Regions from separate parts of the Homo sapiens genome. Here regions 1, 2, 3 and 4 are each linked to region 5. The links are contacts of gene promoters, found by promoter capture Hi-C in blood cells and fetal thymus (Javierre and others, 2016). All regions are on one chromosome and are shown on one strand. The core of a region is centred on a gene start or on the middle of the fragment in contact, and the rest is flanking DNA. Distances in the headings are between cores, read along the strand shown.

Evidence for each region. Contacts are between HindIII fragments. The CHiCAGO score rates a contact against its expected background, and 5 or more counts as called.
Region 1: a contact is called between a fragment that was not itself captured here and the fragment with the promoter of ITLN1 in region 5, in 1 of 17 cell types (fetal thymus). The highest score is 5.1, in fetal thymus.
Region 2: a contact is called between the fragment with the promoter of CD84-AS1 here and the fragment with the promoter of ITLN1 in region 5, in 16 of 17 cell types (total CD4 T cells, naive CD8 T cells, monocytes and 13 more). The highest score is 18.4, in total CD4 T cells.
Region 3: a contact is called between a fragment that was not itself captured here and the fragment with the promoter of ITLN1 in region 5, in 3 of 17 cell types (erythroblasts, M2 macrophages and fetal thymus). The highest score is 6.0, in erythroblasts.
Region 4: a fragment that was not itself captured here is called in contact with the fragment with the promoter of ITLN1 in region 5 in 2 of 17 cell types (non-activated CD4 T cells and activated CD4 T cells); the score reaches 9.7 in non-activated CD4 T cells.

The regions. Positions count from the first base shown.
Region 1 is chr1:160,485,131-160,489,478 of GRCh38, reverse strand. It overlaps SLAMF6 (SLAM family member 6), which reads left to right. Exons shown (of 8, transcript NM_001184714.2): 6 at 309-391; 7 at 2,304-2,375; 8 at 2,725-4,348. The coding sequence ends at 2,772. Among named protein-coding and RNA genes, the nearest start is that of SLAMF6, 36 kb to the left of the region's middle. RefSeq lists an enhancer at 10-139. The HindIII fragment of the contact is 1,775 bases long and covers 1,075-2,849 here.
Region 2 is chr1:160,534,517-160,539,042 of GRCh38, reverse strand. CD84-AS1 (CD84 antisense RNA 1) reads right to left here and starts at 1,947. Exons shown (of 2, transcript NR_188634.1): 1 at 1,856-1,947. The HindIII fragment of the contact is 1,945 bases long and covers 886-2,830 here.
Region 3 is chr1:160,436,358-160,441,133 of GRCh38, reverse strand. LOC105371467 (a long non-coding RNA gene) reads left to right here and starts at 2,957. Exons shown (of 3, transcript XR_922202.3): 1 at 2,957-3,052; 2 at 3,844-4,176. The HindIII fragment of the contact is 2,708 bases long and covers 1,412-4,119 here.
Region 4 is chr1:160,394,425-160,399,067 of GRCh38, reverse strand. All of the region lies in intron 3 of LOC105371466 (a long non-coding RNA gene), which reads left to right. Among named protein-coding and RNA genes, the nearest start is that of VANGL2, 3.8 kb to the left of the region's middle. The HindIII fragment of the contact is 683 bases long and covers 1,445-2,127 here.
Region 5 is chr1:160,883,063-160,887,454 of GRCh38, reverse strand. It overlaps ITLN1 (intelectin 1), which reads left to right and starts at 2,275. Exons shown (of 8, transcript NM_017625.3): 1 at 2,275-2,394; 2 at 2,572-2,635; 3 at 3,929-4,027. The coding sequence starts at 2,578. The HindIII fragment of the contact is 4,692 bases long and covers 2,264-4,392 here.

The sequences.
Region 1 (4,348 bases), core at 713-3,212, 400 kb after region 5:
TTCCATAGGCAGGGCTATTTGGTCCCAGGAGCTTCCTGACCCACATGTGAAGCCTGAGGGAGACTCTGAAGCTTTAGGGGACCTCAACACCACCTTCTACCCCAAGAGATGTGGTCAGAAATAGACCACATGACTGAGAAGGTTCACCCAGAGCTCCAAAGACTGTCAAGAACGAATGATCCCTCAGGAAAGGAGATGCTTCAAACACCTGCCTATCTGGGGACACAGTGTGCTCTGGGGAGGGAGAAGTCCTGGGAGAGAAGTCCCAGAGTCCTTGTGCCATTGACTGTGCCTTCCTATGTTAACAGCAGAGTCCGCAAGGAACCTAGAGTATGTTTCAGTGTCTCCAACGAACAACACTGTGTATGCTTCAGTCACTCATTCAAACAGGGTGAGTCTTTTCAGCTTTATATGCCATTGTTGTCAGTTTTACAGCCATTGTTCACAAACTTGTCACCATAACCATCTGACTGAACAAATGACCACTGAGGGGAGGAGAAGACAGCCACAGCGACAGGGGCTGCAAAGTTATGCGCTAGACCACTCTGGTGTCTGCCTTTCTCACCCTTAAGGGAATGTTTATTCATACCCTGCCTTACACAGTTCTCCAACCGCTTGATGCATCAGTAAGTCTTGTCCCTTCAGCTTAATTACAAGCTGACTGAAAGTACAAATTATGTCTTCCTCTCTCTTGCCCTATATCCTAGCATAATGATCAGTAAATACTTGCTGAATGGGTCAGAGTTCCACTAAGTTTGAAAGTTTCCTATGGACGTAGTTCCATAGCAGGTGGCTGACTTCTCACTCTGCATGTAGGGGTCTTAGGGGAGTTCAGAAGTAGTCTCTCAAGAGGGGAAGGGGGCACAGTAGAGGCCACTAAACCATGAGCAATGGTTCACCCCTCCCCTCTCATCTAGCAGCATAACAGGATGGCTGGTCAAGCATCAGCAACTCATCTGTCATGTATCAGCAACTCCCCACCACCCCTAAATAAAGGACCTGCAGGTGGCACATCTCTAAATAATACCATACATTTTGAGAGGCCAGTTTTCTGAAAAATAAGCCAGGAAAGCTTAGCATTTTCAAAATGATGTAAGCAATGATCTAGCTAGAAATCTTGGATTCCCTTCACCTATATTTGCAAAGTATGATCCTTGATGACAGGAAGCAAGAAGGGGTACTCTCACTTGCTCAGACATTTCTTTTGCCTTTGCAAATTCCTCCTGAAAACAAGTCAACTCACACTCTGACAAATCAAAAAACTAATTTCCCACAAATTGGTTAGCTTTCTCTTTAGCAAAAAGAAAAAAAAAATGTGCTTTGGAGAGTTTGAGGTTTTTTTGTTTTTTGTTGGTTTGTTTTTTGTTTTTTGGTTTTTTTTTTTTTTTGAGACAGAGTGTCACTCTGTCACCAAGGGCTGAGTGCAGTAGCACAATCACAGCTCACTGCAGCCTCAACCTCCTCATGCTCAGGTGATCCTTTTACCTTGGCCTCCCAAGTAGCTGCGACTACAGGCGAGCACCATCACATCAGGATAATTTTTCTACTTTTTGTAGAGACGGGGTTTCACCATGTTGCCCAGGCTGGTCTCAAACTTCTGCGCTCAAGTGATCCGCCTGCCTCGTCCTCCCAAAGTGTTGGGTTTACAGGCATGAGCCACTGTGCCCAGTAGAGATCTTGATAATTCTCTAAATACTTCTTCATTAATTTAAAGTGTCAAAATCTTTGAGTAGGTTCTTTGAGGGCCGTAGGGACTTCTGCTATTATTTCTGTAATGTGCATTCCAGGCAGAGCCATTCTTAAGGCCAAGTGTTCCTATTCTACCAATTCCCCATGCTTGAGAAGACCCCAATGACATGATGACAAGGCAGTTAGAATTATAGCAAAAGATGGAGCAGGCAAAATGGGTAGTTTCAGTCATAGCTAGTAAAAATTTGAGACAAAACATATAATAAACTATCTGGTATATAAGTTTTTTCTTAAAAATGGAGGAAGGAAAGTAGAGCTGGACAAAGGACAAGAATACTTCCTTCCCTTCATACAGCAAGGCTGCCTTTCTCTGGCTCTTGAGCCCATTGGTTTGCTGCAGTGTTGCTGTTCTGTTTGGGGCTCAGGAAATGCCACTAAATCCTCACAAGTTTGATAGCTAGTCGTGCTTGGTCTTCCACTGAACATTCCCCAGCCTTCCTCTGGAAGAACTTTGACATATTCTCTTTTTTGTCACACAGTCTTTCCTAAGAATATATCTATGCATTAATCTCTTTGTCTCTGTGTAAGCCAAATTGGTATGATTCTTTTTACAGGAAACAGAAATCTGGACACCTAGAGAAAATGATACTATCACAATTTACTCCACAATTAATCATTCCAAAGAGGTAAGCCCACGATTGCTCCATGTTTTTATATTCTTACCTCTCTCCACAGACCTATGATTTTTCAAATAAAGTAAAAATAAAAGGGTCATTTTACAGATGCACAAACAGCAGCAGCATGCGGAAAGTCTCAGGACATCACCAAAACATAATCAAGAAGTTATTTTGTATTAGGATCACCATGCATAACTGAGTTTTCAATTACATGTTTTTAAATTTAATCCTGCCCTATGCTATCAATATCTCTATTATCTGCCTCTCTGTAGTCTCCAGTCCTCTCTCTGTAGTTATGAGGGGTGGGCTGAGGTTCCAGTTCCAATTAACCTACCTCATCTTCCTCTTTTTCCCACAGAGTAAACCCACTTTTTCCAGGGCAACTGCCCTTGACAATGTCGTGTAAGTTGCTGAAAGGCCTCAGAGGAATTCGGGAATGACACGTCTTCTGATCCCATGAGACAGAACAAAGAACAGGAAGCTTGGTTCCTGTTGTTCCTGGCAACAGAATTTGAATATCTAGGATAGGATGATCACCTCCAGTCCTTCGGACTTAAACCTGCCTACCTGAGTCAAACACCTAAGGATAACATCATTTCCAGCATGTGGTTCAAATAATATTTTCCAATCCACTTCAGGCCAAAACATGCTAAAGATAACACACCAGCACATTGACTCTCTCTTTGATAACTAAGCAAATGGAATTATGGTTGACAGAGAGTTTATGATCCAGAAGACAACCACTTCTCTCCTTTTAGAAAGCAGCAGGATTGACTTATTGAGAAATAATGCAGTGTGTTGGTTACATGTGTAGTCTCTGGAGTTGGATGGGCCCATCCTGATACAAGTTGAGCATCCCTTGTCTGAAATGCTTGGGATTAGAAATGTTTCAGATTTCAATTTTTTTTCAGATTTTGGAATATTTGCATTATATTTAGCGGTTGAGTATCCAAATCCAAAAATCCAAAATTCAAAATGCTCCAATAAGCATTTCCCTTGAGTTTCATTGATGTCGATGCAGTGCTCAAAATCTCAGATTTTGGAGCATTTTGGATATTGGATTTTTGGATTTGGGATGCTCAACTTGTACAATGTTTATTAGACACATCTCCTGGGACATACTGCCTAACCTTTTGGAGCCTTAGTCTCCCAGACTGAAAAAGGAAGAGGATGGTATTACATCAGCTCCATTGTTTGAGCCAAGAATCTAAGTCATCCCTGACTCCAGTGTCTTTGTCACCAGGCCCTTTGGACTCTACCTCAGAAATATTTCTTGGACCTTCCACTTCTCCTCCAACTCCTTGACCACCATCCTGTATCCAACCATCACCACCTCTAACCTGAATCCTACCTTAAGATCAGAACAGTTGTCCTCACTTTTGTTCTTGTCCCTCTCCAACCCACTCTCCACAAGATGGCCAGAGTAATGTTTTTAATATAAATTGGATCCTTCAGTTTCCTGCTTAAAACCCTGCAGGTTTCCCAATGCACTCAGAAAGAAATCCAGTTTCCATGGCCCTGGATGGTCTGGCCCACCTCCAGCCTCAGCTAGCATTACCCTTCTGACACTCTCTATGTAGCCTCCCTGATCTTCTTTCAGCTCCTCTATTAAAGGAAAAGTTCTTTATGTTAATTATTTACATCTTCCTGCAGGCCCTTCCTCTGCCTGCTGGGGTCCTCCTATTCTTTAGGTTTAATTTTAAATATGTCACCTCCTAAGAGAAACCTTCCCAGACCACTCTTTCTAAAATGAATCTTCTAGGCTGGGCATGGTGGCTCACACCTGTAATCCCTGTACTTTGGGAGGCCAAGGGGGGAGATCACTTGAGGTCAGGAGTTCAAGACCAGCCTGGCCAACTTGGTGAAACCCCGTCTTTACTAAAAATACAAAAAAATTAGCCAGGCGTGGTGGTGCACCCCTAAAATCCCAGCTACTTGAGAGACTGAGGCAGGAGAATCGCTTGAACCCAGGAGGTGGAGGT
Region 2 (4,526 bases), core at 698-3,197, 350 kb after region 5:
TGGCTATATGCTGAGTCTTGTGAGTCCTCCTACTGAATGACTGAATCTGGGGGTGGTCTTGAAAACCCCAACACAACTCCTGAATGTCACTACAATCTATCTACCTCTCTTTCACCACTAACTACAGTAGTCCAGGTTGCCATCATCTCTTACCCAGACAATAGCACTTGACCTCTTGCAGTCGTGCCTGCTCCCAGTCCAATCCATTCTCTACACCACAACCAGAGTGATCTTTCCAAAACACAAATAATGGTTATATTGGCCATGCTAATGTCATCTGGTGGCAGAAAGGACCAATGGATTGCTGTGGTATAAGGCTTTGTATATGTAATAACTTATAAGTTGAAAATTTATAATTAAGCCCTGGCACAGTGGCTCACGCCTGTATTGGGAGGCTGAGGTGGGTGGATTACTTGAGGCCAGGAGTTCAAGACCAGCCTGGTCAACATGGTGAAACCCCGTCTCTACTAAAAGTACAAAAACAAAAAAAAAAAAAAGCCGGGTGTGGTGGCACACACCTGTAGTCCCAGCTACTTGGAAGGCTGAGGCACGAGAATTGCTTGAACCCGGGAGGCAGAGGTTGCAGTGAGCTGAGATGGTGCCACTGCACTCCAGCCTGGGCAACAGAGCAAGACTCTTTCTCAAAAGAAAGAAAAGAAAGAAAAAAAAAAGAAAAGGAAAGGAAAGAAAGAAAGAGAGAGAGAAAGTTAGTTTATAATTAGAAGAAATTCTTTAACCTGAAAAAAAATGGAAAGATATTCAGTGGTCTAATTGCCAAAAGTGTACCAGCCTAGATGGTCTTAAGGGCTAGTCCTATCACCTACAATGAAAGGATAATTCCCAGTCATCTTAACTGTCCCAAGGCATAGAAAACAGTGGGAAGCTTCCAAATTCATTAAATACTATAATATAACACTGATTCCAAAGCCAGATAAGGATGATCCCCCACAAAGAGATACATAGGCCAGGAGTTAGCAAACTATGGCGTGTGGCCACATCCAGTCTGCCATCTGTTTTTATTTGACCCACGAACTAAGAATAGTTTACATTTTTAAAATGGTTGAAAAGAATTCAAAGAATAATAATATTTTGGGACATGTTAAAATTATGTGAAATTCAAATTTCAGCATCCATAAATAAAGTTTTATTGAAACACAGCCAACACGCATTCTTTTATGTGTTTATTATGGCTGCTTCCATACTACACCAGCAGAGTTGAGTAGTTGCAAAGGAGATTGTATGGTCCACAAAGTCCAATATTCACTACTGGGACCTTTACAGAAAAAGTCTGCCACATCCTGATATAGTCCAATCTCACTTATAAATATAAATGTTAAAAATCTTAAACTTCAGTCAATTTTAAAGCAATGCATTAAAAGAAAAAAAAATGCGACCAAGTAGGATTTTATCCTTAGAGTGCCAGGATGATTTATCTTTAAGAAACCATCTATTGTAATTTGCTGTTCAAACAGATTAAAGGAGATGAAAAAAATAATCATCCTGACATAGTCTACAATATATATTTGATAAAACTGAATACCCATGACTGATTTAAAAAGTTTTCAAGAAAGCTAAAAATAGAATGTGTTTTAGTCAATATCCAATTTTAAAAAACTGAGACCATGTTAAATACTGAAAACTCAACAAGCTGAATATAGGGAATTGATTCCAAAAGTGATGGAGGAGTAAAACAGGGAAGCTGAGGTTACCAAGCAATTAATAATTCCAGGAAGTTGCTATGGAACTTTGTCCCTATGGAAATTTGTCTTGGGAATCAGTGCTGCCAGCTTTCAAGATTCTAAGAGTTCACAGTCTCATCAAAACTGTGAGACTCTGGGAGACAAAAATAACTCACCACTGCAGATGCCACCATCAAAGCCTGATCCCACCAGTACCACACTAGCAAGACTTCTGACATGCTTGCTGGAACTGCACTGCTACACCAGGAACCCTGAAGCGGTACTCATCTTCTGCTATCACTGCCACTACTGAAAACATTACCAGAAACCAAGATTATGGAAAAATATATAATTTATTCCTTCCATCCAACTTTAACCAATACCACCCAGTGACAAAATCTAATCAGAAGCCATCTGACAATGGAAATGATAAATGTAGTTTGCAGACTTCTAACCTTCTGAAAAACAAGGAACACAGAAGGGTGGGAATAGAGCTGAGAGCAAATAAGCAAATGACTGGCTCGGGTTAAACTTTTACAACTTGATACAGCATATGTAGCAAACATTTATTGGAAACATTAGAGGCATTCTTAATAAAGAAATGAATACAAGTAACCATTCTTGTATTCAGTGAATACAAGATCACTGCTACTCTTCAACTGTATTGTATTGAAGATCCTTGTTAGTAAAGTGAGTCAAGAAATACATATAAGAGGCTATCTCACATCTAGAATCAGTCATTTTTCTAAGGGGCATTGGTTCTTCAGAGAGAATATTATTTATCCACCAAGATCTTGGATAATGTCACTAATTTTTAGTTACTTAAGAAATATGTGAACACATTTCTATCATCTTTTTAAAAATCAGTGTAAAAGTATAGAGATAGAGAGAGTGATGTCAGCAAAGTGGTGGACTAGGAAATTCCAAACTCTCTCTTTCCCCCAACTTAGAGTAATAAAAAAACAGCCAAACAAACAAAAAAAAACCCAAATGGTTGAATTAACCTTATAGGGACTCTGGAAAACAGTCAGAGTTTTATAACAACCAATCAAATGCCCAATGAAGAAAAAGCCACTTTTGAAATGGTAGGAAAAGTTCCATGGCATTTTTCTTGCCCTTGCCCCATCCCCTCCTCATCCCAACAGAAAGCTTGTTTAGAGGAGGCAGGAGTTCACTTCTCAGTTCCCTCTCTTGAATGGGAGGGAACATAACAGATCTTATTTGCAATATTCTAATCTGTCTTAGGAGTCCATGAAGAACTGGTCTCTATTTCACTTAATTCAGATCTCAAGTGGGAAAGTGCCACTACTATGAACCCAAAGCTATCAAAATAAAGAAAATAATAAAGATTAGACCAGAGATAAAATAGAGAAAATTAATGAACCAAAAAGTTGATTACTTAAAAGGATCAACGAAATTGGCAAATTTAGTTAGAGTGGTTATGGAAAAAAAGACAGAGTGCTCAAATTACTAAAATTGGAAATGAAAATGAGGACACTACAACCAATTTTTCAGAAATGAATAGAAGAGACTACTACAAACAAATTGGATAACATAGATGAAGTAGACACAATTTTTACAAAGACTGAATCATGAAGAAATAGAAAATCTGATTAGACCTATAACTACTAAGAATATTAAGTAAATAATTTTAAAACAACTTCCCAACAAGGAGAAGTCCTGGATCAGAAGGCTTCACTGGTCACCAAAGAGTTTTAAAAGATTTTACACTAATCCTTCTTAAACTCTTCTAAACATTGAAGATAAATATATTAATTCACTCTGTCTTCCATGACAAAATACCACAGACTTGGTAGCTTAAACAATTGAAATTTATTTCTCACAGTTCTGAAGGCTTCGATGTCCAAGATCAAGGTGCCAGCTGATTCAATTGCTGGTGAAACTCTCCCTGGCTTGTAGGTGGCCAACTTCTCAATACGCCCTCATGTGGTAGAGAGAGAGCAAGAACTTTAGTCTCTCCTTTCTTATCAGTATGCTTATCTCATCATGAGGGTCCCACTCACATGACCTCATCCAAACCTAATTATCTCTCAAAGTCCCCATCTCCAAATATCATCACATTGGGGGTTAGAGCTTCAATATATACATTTTGTAGAGGCATAAACACTCAGTCCTTAACAAGAAGAGACCACTTCCTAATTCACTCTGTGACACCAGCACTACCCTGATACGAAAGCCAAACAAAGACACTAAAAGTAAACAAAACTACAAACCAATATTCCTTATAAATATTTATATAAAAATTCTTACAAAATAAGTAGCAAACAAAATTCAGCAGCATATTAAAAGGATTATACAACATGACAGTGAAATGTATTCCTGGAATGCAAGGATAGTTCAACATACAAAAATCATTCAATGTAATATATTGCATTAACAGAATGAAAGAAAAAAACTGGTCATTTTAATTGACACAGAAAAGGCATTTGACAAAGTTCAATATTCTTTCATGATAAAAACTATCCAACAAGCTAGAAATACAAGGGAACTTTTTACACAATAAAGCCCATATATTAAAAATCCACAGTTAACATCACATACAATGGTGAAAGACTGTAAGTTTTTCTCCTAAAATTAGGAACAAGACAAGATGCTCACTTTTACCAGTTGTGTTCAGTGTAGCATTAGAAGATCTAGCTAGAAAAATTAGACAAGAACAAGAAATAAAAGACATCTTAATTAGAAAGGAAGAAGCAAAATGATTTCTGTTCATGGATAATATAATCTCATATATATAAAATCCTAAAGATAATATAATCTCATGTGTATAAAATCCACACAAGCACACACACAAAAACTCTTAGGGCTAATTAAAAATTCAGCAAA
Region 3 (4,776 bases), core at 1,516-4,015, 450 kb after region 5:
AGGGCCCACTCTGGCAGAGCAATGTTCTGCTAACTGAACAAAATACATGGAAACAAACAAAAAACAGACTCTTTAGCACCTCACAAGAGGCACAGACTCATAATCAAAGGCAAATCTTCACTTCTTTTCAGCTACTAGTCCTAGTATGACATTCACATTGTTTGATAGCCAAAACAATATTTTAAATGATGGTATTTATCTAAATCTTTAAAATTCTCATTTATAAAGCATATTATCAAGTATTTTATTTTAAATGTTTATAATGTATTGATTTTATTATCTTAATGTGATTGATTACAGAAGAAATATTAAAAAATAGAGATTAAAAACACATGAGCACTATACAGTGGCTATGTACTATATGTCTTATGTCTTGATTTTAAAGTTTTTAAAAATTGCCAGATTTATTAATTCAATATTATACTATACATTTATTGAGTATTAATTTAATATTCTATTGCATTCAAAGTCCATTAAGAAACTTCAAAAGTATATTTAAATCAATATTCAGGTGCAATACACTATTAAGAAATGGGGTTGGGCACAGTGGCTCAGGCCTGTAATCCCAGTACTTTGGGAAGCTGAGACAGGAGGATCGCTTGAGACTGGGTCTTCAAGACCAGCCTGGGCAATATAGCAAGACCTTGTCTCTGCAAGAAAAGAAAAATAGAAAATTAGCTGGACTCCTGCTTGAGCCCAGGAGTTGAGGCTGCAGCGAATCATGATCCTGCCACTGCACTCCAGTCTGGGCAACACAGTGAGAGCTTGTCAAAAAAAAAAAAAAAAAAAAAAAAGAAAAAGAAAAAGCAAGAGAAGGAAGGAAGGAACAAAGGAAGGAAAGAAAAGGTCAGAAAACCAATAACACCTTAAAACTGTACACGTACAGTATAAATGGATTAGCTCTGTAGGTCTATATAATCTGCAATATTGCCTAAGATTTCTATAAAAGAACCGGTTATACAGATATACCACTTATTTAAATTATAACTCAATGTAGTTGCATATATCTATGTTTAGATTTACATATTTTTAAATAATGGATAGGCGATAATTACTTATTTCACTTATAGGACAATTGTTAATTAGTTCTAATTAACTATCTTAGAACTATCTTAATTAACTATCTTAATTCAACTGAAATTTAGATAGTTCCATTTAATTTAGTTTTTTGTTAAAACAGAAATACAAATTATTGAATTAATTAATATGCCATGCTTGCATTTTTATTTCATGCTGTGGAAAAAACAGCAAAAAAAGGTAGACATAATTTAACCCCAAATTCACAAAATAATTTAATTTATTACATGGTTTCTTTTTATTAGGAGTGTAAGTAAAACTTAATTAAAATTAAGTTCTCTTATCGTTTTACCAAATTATACTAAAACTTTCTACAGCTTGGTACAAAAAAGCTTCTTTTAGCCTTTTAAAATTGTAACTAAATTGTAAATTTAAATTTATAACTCAAATTGTAATAAATCTATCATTTTTACCTTTATACAAAGCAAAGAAATTGAGGCCTGGAGTCTCTTGCATTTCTTTGTAATCGAATTTAGATTGATTTTTTTCCTCCTTGGAAGTCTTTGATATCCCCCCAGGAGATTTGCAGTAAGCTGATGTCCACTTGTGCTGACAACCTTTCGCCATTTGAAAAGCAATTCCTAGCTTGCTTCTGAGAGCTGGTAGAAATTGAATGTCTGCCTCGGGACACCAAATTATCATGCAACGCAAACTGTCCATCATGAACTGGGTGTTTTCTGAACCACCAAATATAAAACTGAATTACCTAACAGGAATTCATTATAAAACAGAAGTGGAATATACAAAAATGGGTCTGAACAGGTCCAGAATACACAAGTATGCTGCATAAGCAGGGGACTTTGTAATTCCAGCTACTCTTCCACCTCTCCCTTGCTCTACACCGACGGCCTCATGAGGAATTCCCTATGAACAGTTAATGGAGGAAGAAAGAGCATGGGCCTGGATTTGCATGCTATGTCAGCCCCAGATGAATGAGAATGGCCTCTCCACTACAGTGAACCTCACTCAGTAGAGGCTTCAAAGTCAGTAATGAAAGAAAATCTCTCCAGCAGGCAGAACTTGAAGCAGCATATCTAGTTGTACACTTTGTTTGGAAGGAGAGATTGCCTGAGGTACATATCTACATTGAATCATGGGCAGCATGTTAACAGGTTGACCACCTTGTCAGTCACTTAAATGAAAAACAATATTGGAAAAGCAGTAAAAAGGAAGTCTGGGAAAGAACTACATAAAGTGGTCACAGTATTAAGATATTTGTGTCTCAAGTAAACGCTCTTTAAAATACTAGGGTTTCCTAATCCCAGGGTTCCTCAACCATGACATAAACTTACTGTATGCAGAGCATCCAGATTGGCTGCTCCGTATCACCCAGTGGAACTTAGAGGCAAGGAGAACTAATGCAAATATGAAGTTCATGCTACCTGCTGGGCCAAGTGTAATAAAGTCCTTTGTCTCTGACCCAGGAGTCTCATGTTTTTTGTCAGTACCCATGAAACTAACAGACAAACTTATTAGTTTAGAAGTGGCATAAAATCTCAGGCTTTTCATAGTTGTTGGAAGTTCTGGCAATGAGGACGAGATGCTGACAGAGATAGGGCTTTCGGGAAGAGGAAAGTACAATGGCCCTTTTGCAGGCCTGTTTGGAAGATCTGAGAGACTCCTGGGGATCCAGTAGTGACTGTTCTCATCCAAGTAGTGAGTGAGAGGTGGAGAATGAGGATACCCACTGTTCTACCTGTTAATGGGGCTGAGGGGTATTAGTTTGGATTGAAGCAAGCTGTCCAAATGGTATTTGTTCTTTCTCCTCTGGGCAGAAGGAGGGAGGGCTATTATTATGATGAAACAGTAAGCCCCATGGCACAAGCCAACAAGCAATAAGGCAGTGGCCACTAGTTAAGGGGTCCCCACAGCTAAAATAAATGGTGTTGGTAGTGAGGATATAGATGTTTGGGTAGACCACAAACAGAATTTGTTTACGTGAACCTGGATCACCACCAGTCACTTGAAACTGAAAGTAAGCGCAGATTGCTTACTGACACAGATCCGTACTCAAGAGCCTGGTAAAATCATTGCTCTCTGCCCCACAGACAAACATTATCTTTATCTCCCTAGGCTACTAATTTCTATAGTAAGTGTGAAATATCTCTTAGATGTCTTTGTGAAGATGTCAAATAAGCACTTAGATTTATAAGTCTAGAATTCTGGGGAGAAGTCAGGGCAAGAAATAGAGATTTGGGAGTACTTGGTATATAACTAACATTTATTGGGTACTTACTACATGCCAGGCATATCTAAGTAGTTTATGAATATTTTCTGAGTTACACTCCCAACATCCCTGTGAGGTTGGCACTGTGTTATTGTCTTCATTTTAAAGATAAAGAAACAGAAAATTTCCTCAAGGCCACATAGCTACTGGGAGCAAAACCAGAAGAAAAACCCAGGCAGGTTGACCCCAGAGCCCATGTTCATTACTACTATGCTGTGCTATCTGGTACACAGACGGTATTTAAAGCCTTGGGATGAGATGAGGATACCCATGGGTAGTATGTAGAAAAGAGAAAAGGGGACTGAAGTACTGCAACATTTAATGATGTCCTTCAGAATTTCCAATTCCTCCTGTCTGGTTCTGTATTTAATAGACAAATGCTAATTTATCAATTTGAACTGTCCCATCAGGAATATACCTGTACAAATGACCAACTCCAGTTCCCAAACTAGATCTATCAGTTGTTATAAATTGATAAATTAACATTCTTATTTATAATTGCTCTTTTATATGTATGGCTGGTTTTATTCCATTTCCAGAATGTTATTTCCCTTTGATTACTTAATGAAGACAGAATGTCTGGACCAGTAATGACCTCCTAAGATACTGACACTCTGTGAGGTACTATCTGAGGCAAACAGGACTTCTTGGACATCTCTTTGACCACAATATGGCACCATACCAGGAATCTGAGGAAGCAGAGGTTCCACATGGTTTGCTGAAAATTCAAGGGGAAAACAACATCTGAACTGAAAATGCTTAACTCAGAGCTCTCCTCAAATAGTAAATACTATTTCAGAAACGGTTGGTAAGCTTTGGCAAGACGCTGCCCTCAGAAAGAACCATGGCAGCTGAGAAATAGCAAGTACCAGGTATGGGTTCTGTGGTATAAACATGAGGGGCTCCACAAAGGTCCTCTTCTCTTTAGTGTCGAGCAATTATGTGTACATATACACAGCGTACATTAGATGTTCCAATTCTTCTCCCTGTCTTTGATTTTATTCTTAAAACAAAAGATTCATTTGTAACTTTTATTTCAGTTGCCATCAGAGTCTTAGTAAAATAGCAGTCCCTTAGTTGTTCAGAAATTCATTTTTATTTTTAATTATATGGCTACGTAATAGTTGTATATATTTACAGAGCACATATGATGTTTTGATACAGACATATAGTATGTAATGATCAAATCAGGGTAATTGGGGTATCCATCATCTCAAGCATTTATTTATCATTTATTTGTGTTAAGAACATTCCAATTCCCCTATTTTAGTTATTTTTAAATATACAATAAATTGTTGTTAACTACAGTCACCTTATTGTGCTACCAAATACTACAACTTATTCATTCTATTTAACTGTACTGTTATATCCATTAACCACTCCCTGTTTATCCCCCTGTACCTACTATTCTCCCCAGCTTCTGGTAAACATCATTCTAGTCTCTCTCTCCATAACTTCAATTTTTTTTAGCT
Region 4 (4,643 bases), core at 537-3,036, 490 kb after region 5:
AATCATCATTTCAGGTACCCAAGTCCCTGCATGCGTCCAGGCACTCATTCACCTTGTGCCTATCATGTGCAGGCACTGGGCCGCACTGGGGCTCCTGGCAGTGACCACGACCAGGTGTATGAGGGAGTGGCAGGAGAGCTGGGGAAGGGTTAAGGGAAGTAGGGAGGACATGGGTGTCCCCAGCCCTGCCCCAAAGCACACCCCAGTGCTAGGCAGCTAGTGTGTAATTTGACACAGAGTCGGGGCTGCCGTGGCACTGTCTTGACTCTCAGGCAGATTTAGTGTGAATTATCTTCACATGCTGCTAGCCTGTTTCACAGACCCCAAAATGGCCCAAAGAACTGGAAAAAGGGCTTCTGATGCCAGAATTACAGATAATTCCATAGTCTGGCCCCACTGAAAGCTTGAAACCTAAGTCAGGATGTTAACAGACAAGGCTTCCCAATTAACAGGTATCAGGCATCAGGCTAGAATAAGCTTAGTCCCTCCTTTCTCTGACGGTGAGGTTGGGGGCTTTCAATTACATCTCTGCAATGAAAACACTGGATTACAGAGTCCAACAAAAAATTTTATTGGTGTGGTCTGTCCCATTCAGCAATTCTCTGTATTACCTTCTACCTTCACCTCAGGATAGAATCCCATCTGGATTTCACACGTCCCCAAGTCACTGAGTAAGCAAACAGAGACCCAGCTAGAAGGCCCATGTGCCCTATGGTCTAAGGGACCTAGCTTAATTCTTTAGAAGGAAGGAGAGCACTGAAATGACATTCAACTGAGATTTTCCTAAAGGGGCCAACCTACAATAACAGAGGGAGGCCAAGAGCCTGAGGGACAATAGAATGGAACAGATTGGATTTTGTACAGCTCCTGTCCTTGAGGACATAGTCGAATTTCTTAATTTCTTCAAGCCTCAATTTCTGCTTATATAAAAAGGGTCTAATGAGGTAACAGAAGGAACACCCTCCATATACTCATAGTGCCACAGTCAATTCCCAGTCGAGTTTCCCCTCTCTGTTCTGTGCCTAGGATACTTCTCTTAGGAGAGAACACTTCTCTAGGACACTTCTTTCAGTACTCTTCCTCGGGGAAGGAGGCCCCTAGCTAAAAGCCAGGGCCCTCCATTAAAGCCCTTTCAACACCTCACCAGCTCACTAGGTGGAGGTGGGGCTGGTGGGGTCAGATCAGAGGCTTCCCAGGAGCCCTGGGAGTTGGACCCTCCTGGGGAAGATTCAAGGAACTCAAGAAGTGACAGTAGACTCTCTCTGAGGGAAGGTCCAGACTATAGAGAAGCACCTACCTACTTCCTGTGTGGATGAAGCTGTCCCTGGAGGTCAGGCCCAGACCACAGTAGCAAAAGTTAGGTTTTCTGCTCTGATGAAAAGTAGGGCCTTTTTACAATGCTGCTCAGAGAAAGGGAATCCTTGGTACCTTACTCATAGAAGCTTCACACTATAGCAGAATGGCCATCAAAGTGTTTCCATGTAAGCAATTAGCAATTTTAGCCACCTCCCAGGTACAGGTGACTGCAGTAATGTACCCACATGCAGGGCCACAATCACCATCTACTTCCAGCCCTGCTGATGAGCCTGGGTACAAGTTGATCTCCCGGAATAGTTACAGATCTTTCCCCAGCACCCACCTTCCCAGAAAGGCTACTCTCAATGCTCACAAAAGGATTTCCAGACCCAGTCTATATTGGGAAATACCTGGGTTCTGGGTGTGAGGGGTTTCCCCCTTCACTTTTAGTTAAAAAAAAAAAAAAAAAAGAATAAAAGTAGCTCACACACAAAAAAACTTAACTGGTCAAGAACTGTATTATGTCATAGGCTTGTGGTGAAGTGTCTGTCATGTGAGATCCTGATCTCTAAGAAGAAGGACCATGCCTCATTCATTTCTATATCTCTGGCACATAAAATTCAATAAGTTAGCATTAGCTGCCTTCCCTTCTAGCTTCCTTCTCTTTCTCCCTTCCTCATCTATGAAACCTTGACCACTCCCTATTCATCCAACCTTTATTAAGTGTGAGTTTCCTCAAATCCAATCCCATTATCATTAATCTAAAATGTTACCTGCAATTAAACCAGTGGTTGTGAACTTTGACTGCAGATTTTAATCACCTGGGAAGCTTTGAAAACACATCAATGCCCAGGACCATCCCAGACTAATTAAACCAGAAACTTCTGAGGTGTGACCCAGCTATTGGCATTTTTTTTAAGATACCTCAGTGATTTTAATGTGAGAACCACTGAATGAAACTTTCTGATTTCCTTCCTCCTTCTTGGGAAGAATAGACACTCTCCAGCTCCCTTGGCTGGGACTAGGCCCTGCAGGTGTGCGTTATATCCTGTCCTTTCCCACCTCCATCCATTATTCACAATCTCTCCTGTAACCAACTTCGGCCTCTTCACTGATCTTTGCCCAGCAGACATAATAAAATGAAATACCTTCCTCCACTCAGCAGCCTCCTCTTGCTTTAGCCTTCGCTTTTATTTCTTTCTCATCCAACCTTCTTAAAAGAGTAGATTCTTAGGCCAGGCCTGGTGGCTCACACCTGTAATCCCAGCACTTTGGGAGGCTGAGGCGGGTGGATCACCTGAGGTCGAGAATTAGAGACCAGCCTGACCAACATGGAGAAACCCCGTCTCTACTGAAAATACAAAATTAGCCGGTCATGGTGGCAGGTGCTTGTAATCCCAGCTACTCGGGAGGCTGAGGCAGGAGAATCGCTTGAACCCAGGAGGAGGAGGTTGCGGTGAGCCGAGTTCGTGCCATTGCACGCCAGCCTGGGCAACAAGAGTGAAACTCCATCTCAAAAAAAAAAAAAAAAAAAAAAAATGGATAGATTCTTTACTATCTCTCTTCCTCCCTTCACTCCTCAGCTCCTTGCACCCCAGCCATCCTTCCAATGTGTTTTCTACTCCTGACTTCAAATACTATTATTTCCCAGAATTCAGCCTTTGGCCCCCTTACTCCCCACTCCACATGCTTTTCCAAAGCAATGTCATTCACTCCTGTGGCTTCAGTCAGTACTCACTTATGAGTGCTGCTAAATCCAGGTCTATCTTGTGAGCATAAGACTCAAATTTTCAACTTCCTACCATACATTTTAACTTGGATATTCCTTGGGTATCTTAAATGTAATAGGTTTAAAAGGAACAACATTATCTTCCTTCCACCTCTATCCCCTTGGCTTATTCAGACCTTTATCATTTCCAAACATGTCTCATTCCCTTCCAATCCGTCTTCCTCCCATGTTGCCAATGTGATTTTTATGAAAGGGAAATCAGCCTGTCACTCTCTTACCTAAAACAATCCATGGCTTCCCACTGTCTACAAGATAAAGTCAAAACTTTTTGGCACCATACATAAGAAACTTCAGGCCCCAACTCATTCGCCTTCTCCAGGCTTATCTCCTAGTGCTCCCTGTGCATTTAAAGCCCAAACTTTCAACACACGTACATCCAAACTATACGCATCTACTCATTGTTCTGCCAATTTGAGGCTCTATTACTTCTCTGCCTTCTCACAAAGTTTCCTTTGCCTAAAATGCCTTCCTCCTTCTTTCTGCCTGGAAAGTTTTGTTGATCCTTCAAGACTGAACTGTGGCCTCCTCTGCAACTCTTTACCAATTTTCCCAAGCAAAGCTAGATGACCCCACACCCGGAGAACCTCCTTTGTGCTCTCAAAGCTCTGCATACCTTTGTTTTAGCATTTATGACATTGTATGGCAATTTCTTAATAATAATTGTATGGTAATTTCTCAATAATAGCATTTTGAGGTTGGAAGAGACTTTCTGAATTTTACAGATGAGGAAACAGGTACAAAGTAAGTGCCTCATTGCCCAAAGTCATACGGCTAATTAGTGGCAGCCCCAGAACTAAAACCCGGGTCTCCTGACTTACTGTTCAGCAGTCTGTCAACTGCACCACATTTACTGAGCACGGTTTCATCTGAAATAAAGATCATGGTAGTGACTCCTAGCCTTTTGTGGACTTTTGAGACTTTGATGAAAGCTACAAGCGCTCACCAGAACAATGTACACATGTACACACACAGAATTCACATCCATTCTCAGGGCATGCTGGGGGGTATGTGTGGCATTGGTTTAAAGAGAGAAAAATCTAGAAGTAGCAAAACCAGTAAGAAGGCTAATTAAATAGTTTGGGGGCAGGGTGGTGGAGGGGAGTTGAGCCTGGCTCCAAGGCTGTGGGGATAGATAAGGATAGAAAAGAAAGCTCATTGCCGGGCACCGTGGCTCAGGCCTGTAATCCCAATACTTTGGGAGGCTGAGGCGGGTGATCACGAGGTCAGGTGTTCGAGACCACCTGGCCAACATGGTGAAACTCCGTCTTTACTAAAAATACGAAATTAGCTGGGCATGGTGGTACATGCCTATAATCCTAGCTACTTGGGAGGCTGAGGCAGGAGAATTGCTTGAACCTGGGAGGCAGAGGTTGCAGTGAGCCAAGATCATGCCATTGCACTCCAGCCTGGGCAACAAGAGCGAAACTCCATCTCAAAAAAAAAAAAAAAAAAAAGCTGAAATTTGGAAGAGATGACCTGCAGGTGGGATGAATAGGGTTGAGGAACAAAGAGGCATTTAAAATGACTCAGAGGCTTCTGGTATGTATATTAAAGAAGC
Region 5 (4,392 bases), core at 1,026-3,525:
AAAATAAAATAAAGAGAAGCTGCTGTCAAGCAAGCCTGGATCTTGCCCTCTCTCTCGATTTTCTATTTCATGAGGTAATAGATTTACTTTTTAGAAAAGCCACTTTGAGATGGGGTTTCTATTAGTTACAGCTACAAGGAACCAGACTGAACTAAATAAATGTCCAGGGCAGTGGGGTTTGGAGGAAGTTGTGTGGGGAACAGATTCAAGAGGAAGTAGGGGTAGAATCAATGGGACGCAATCACTGATTGGATGATGATGGTTAGAAGGGGTAATGTCCTTAAAATGGATGTACTGTTTTCCCAGTCTATTAGATGGCATCATGTACCATTAAGGATGAGATGCATAATGATATTAAAGATGTCAAAATACAAAAAAAGTGTCTTAGAATCAACTAAAGAAAGTAGTATAAGTGTATATTTTCTTTTTTTATTTTTGCAAATATGTTACTGTTTTATTAAGCCATAAAGTTTTCAGGTGGTTAGTTACACACAGTAATGAACAACTGAGGGGATGTTTAATTTTTTTCTCTAGATCTTGGGCCCTTGGTGTTAACTTTATATACATGTATTTACTATTGTGAACTGTAAACTTAGAGACCTCTATTTTTTTTTTTTTTTTTTGAGATGGAATTTCACTCTTGTTGCCCAGGCTGGAGTGCAATGGTGCGATCTCAGCTCACTGCAACCTCTGCCTCCCGGGTTCAAGCAATTCTCCTGCCTCAGCCTCCCGAGTAGCTTGGATTACAGGCGCCTGACACCGTGCCCAGCTAATTTTATATTTTTAGTAGAGACACGGTTTCACCGTGTTGATCAGGCTGGTCTTGAACTCCTGACCTCAAGTGATTGGCCACCCTCGTCCCCTCAAAGTGCTGGGATTACAGGTGTAAGCCGCAGCGCCTGGCTGAGACCTCTATTTCTAAGAGGTTGTTGTTTGTAAATATGAAAGCTGGGTATGTTCATTTTGTTACCTATACTGATGAGTTAATTTAGTTTCTAATACATTTAATTTTATTTAATTAATTATTTTCCAGATACACAGAGCAAATAGCTTCTAATAGATTTTAAATTTACAAAAGTATAACTTTTTTTTGCAGTTTTTCTTCTTGGGTGCTATTTTATTTTCTTCTATCAATATGTGAGTATTTTTTGCAAATCAGTACTTTGAACCAACAAATAGGAAATATTAGCTTAACAAAAAAGATATTCACAATCTTTGTAAGAAAAGGTTGCAGTATTATTAATGCTATAATGACATTATGTATTAAATGTATGATATCACTGGGGAAGAACTGAGTAATTCTATTACAGCTGCAGGGTAGCATTTGAGAACTTCATGACATAGGAGCAGGAATAAGACAGGAGGTTCGAAGCAGCAGAGAGGTTTCGTATTGATTCAGTTTCAAATGAATCCTGTAGTAAATTTTCCCTCGTTTGTGGCAAAATGACAAAATTAAAGACAAAGTAGTGAGTCTTTGTGTGAAACTAAATTATTCAAACTAAAGATTTATATATTTTTTAAAACTTTTCTATTCGTATTTTTTTGTGTGTTTTGTATCTCTTTCCCCTCCATTCCTTTTTACCAATTTATTCAGAAATGATCACTTTCCCATTTTGTTAAAATTTCCTTTTTCTATTTCTATGAATTGATAATTATGGCCAATGATTAATTTCATTTATTTATTTATTTTGAGATACCTAAGCTGAAGTACAGTGGCACGGTCATATTTCACTGAATCCTCTATCTCTGGGACTTAAGTTACCCTTTTGCCTTGCCTCAGCCCCACCTGAAACTATAGGCAAGTACCACCATGCCATGCTAATTTTTTTACTTTTATTTTTAGTAGAGAAGAGGTTGCCCTATGTTGCCCAGGCTGGTCTCAAACTCCTGAGTTCAAGTGATCCTTCTGCCTTGGCCTCCCAAAGTATTGGGATTTGAGCCAATGTGCCAAGCCAACAGATGCTTAATTTAGAGAAAGTTTTTATTTTGCAAGAAAGAAAGGCACAAAAACCCAAAACCAACACCAACTCTTGTTAATCTCTTCGTCTACTTCCTACTTGACACAGGTCCATGAAACCCCCAGATCCAGGAACAACGCTAGCAGGTGATTCTTAGGATTGGTTTTTTCTTTAGAACCTGTTAATTCCACTGTATAAATAACCTCCCCGAGATAACCAGAAGCCTCCCCTGCACTGGGCATTGTGCCAGGGGAGGGTGAGGCTGGAAACCTTGGTTGGCCCCACTGGGCTTCCTCCATAAAGCTTTCTGCACCTCATTCCACATCAGGAGCGTTTTTGGAGAAAGCTGCACTCTGTTGAGCTCCAGGGCGCAGTGGAGGGAGGGAGTGAAGGAGCTCTCTGTACCCAAGGAAAGTGCAGCTGAGACTCAGACAAGGTCTGTGAGTTGGGGGAATCCTGTTTTCAGCTTAGGTCTGCTTTTGGTCTCAGAGATGTGTGAAGTTTAAACAAAAGGCAAGGGGTTTTGGAGTCTTTGTAAGACTGGACAGGGGTGGGGCAGGGATGTAGAGAAAAATGATGGCCAAGATGGTGACCTTCATCTTGCTTTCTTTAGATTACAATGAACCAACTCAGCTTCCTGCTGTTTCTCATAGCGACCACCAGAGGATGGAGTACAGGTGAGTCACGCTGCTAGGGACAGCAGTTCCTTCAGCTGGATGACTTCCGGGATCCTGGTCTCTCCCAGGACACAGAGCATGTCCTTGAGATGCACAGCGGCTGGCTTGCATGTAGACTGAGTGCCGATTTCTGGTCTCTGGCGGAATCTGGCCTGTGGCAGTGAAGGTATTGCTTGAGGCATGTCCTGGGTCCAGGCTCTGTGCTTTTGTGTGGCCCTGAGGGGGCTGTGGCAAGAACTGTGTCACCTTCCAGCCACTGCCCACTCCTGTGGCCTTGGCTGTGGGATTTCCATGGGAACTACATGGTCTGCTTTGTGCCTGGAGAATGTTCTCTCCACAGTTTTCCTCTCTACAACAAGAATAACAATGACATTTTAAAATTTATATTTTTCTTCACGTCTAAAAATTTTTTTTTTAAAGAAAAGGCTGTTTCGAAATATCTTCTTACTTCATCTTTGCAAAAGCACTGTTTATTAACTGTGTTTTAGGTATGAGGAAACTGAGGTCAGTCACCTCTGACCTCACAGCTTTCCCCTAGACTGTTCGAATAGTTTGCAGACTTTTTGGAGTAGAGATTAGTCTCACCACTCCCTACTTCACACCCCATGTTTCAGCCATATTAAGCAGCTTGTAGTTCTACAGCTGGACTACGCTGTATTTTTTTTTTTTTCTCTAGGCCTTTGGATATGCTGTTTTCCCTGCCTTGGATTGGCTTCCTACTGATAAATCATGTTTATTCTCTCAGAATAAGCTAAGATGTCACCTGGACTGGAAGGTCTTCTGTGACTAAGACATGAGACAACCCGTCTTGCCTTCTTCTCCCAGGCAACTGCCCCGCTTACTGTCTGGCGTTTCCATTCTCCACTGTTACCTCAGAGTCTTTCTTTTGTTCTCTTGAGTTTGCCTTTCTTCTACCATTTATTCTTGTCAATACAATTTTCTGTTGACTTGTTAGCAATTCCCTCTAGAGGCAAGCTCTTGCTGGGGAACTTTAATGTCTTTGATTACTCAGTGCTTAGGGCAGGACCCAGCACAAGGACAGGTCTTGTGGCGGGAGGCAGACTTTAAGCCTGTGCTGGCTGTCAGGTCGGATGGGCTGAGTGGATATGATGCCGATGGGCTGAGTGGATGTGACACTGATGGGCTGAGTGGATATGACACTGGCTGTCTCAGGCCTTACCACCCGGGCAGCGAGGTTCTGCTACAGTGGTGGAATGAGCGTGGGACTAGTGATAGGAGAGGGTAGGTTTTGTGTCAAACCGGGAATGAGAATAAACCCTGTGTATTCCCTAGATGAGGCTAATACTTACTTCAAGGAATGGACCTGTTCTTCGTCTCCATCTCTGCCCAGAAGCTGCAAGGAAATCAAAGACGAATGTCCTAGTGCATTTGGTGAGTGATGAAACATTCAAACAGAGCTCAGTCAGGGTATCAGGATTGTGTCTTCTGGGAGTCTTTTTGTCTTTTAGTTAAAAAATTATGGTAAAGTATATGTATATTATAATTTACATAAGATTTGCCATTTTAAGCAACATTAAGTGTGCAATTCAGTGGCATTAATTACCTTCAAGGTTGTGCAACCATCACAGCTATCCATATGCAGAACTTTTTCAGTGCCCCAAACAGAAACTCTGTACTTAATAACATGGAGGGGCCGGGTGCGGTGGCTCAGGCCTGTAATCCCAGCACTTTAGGAGGCTGAGAGGGGTGGATCAGTTGAGGCCAGGAGTTTGAAACCAGCTTGGCTAACATGGTGG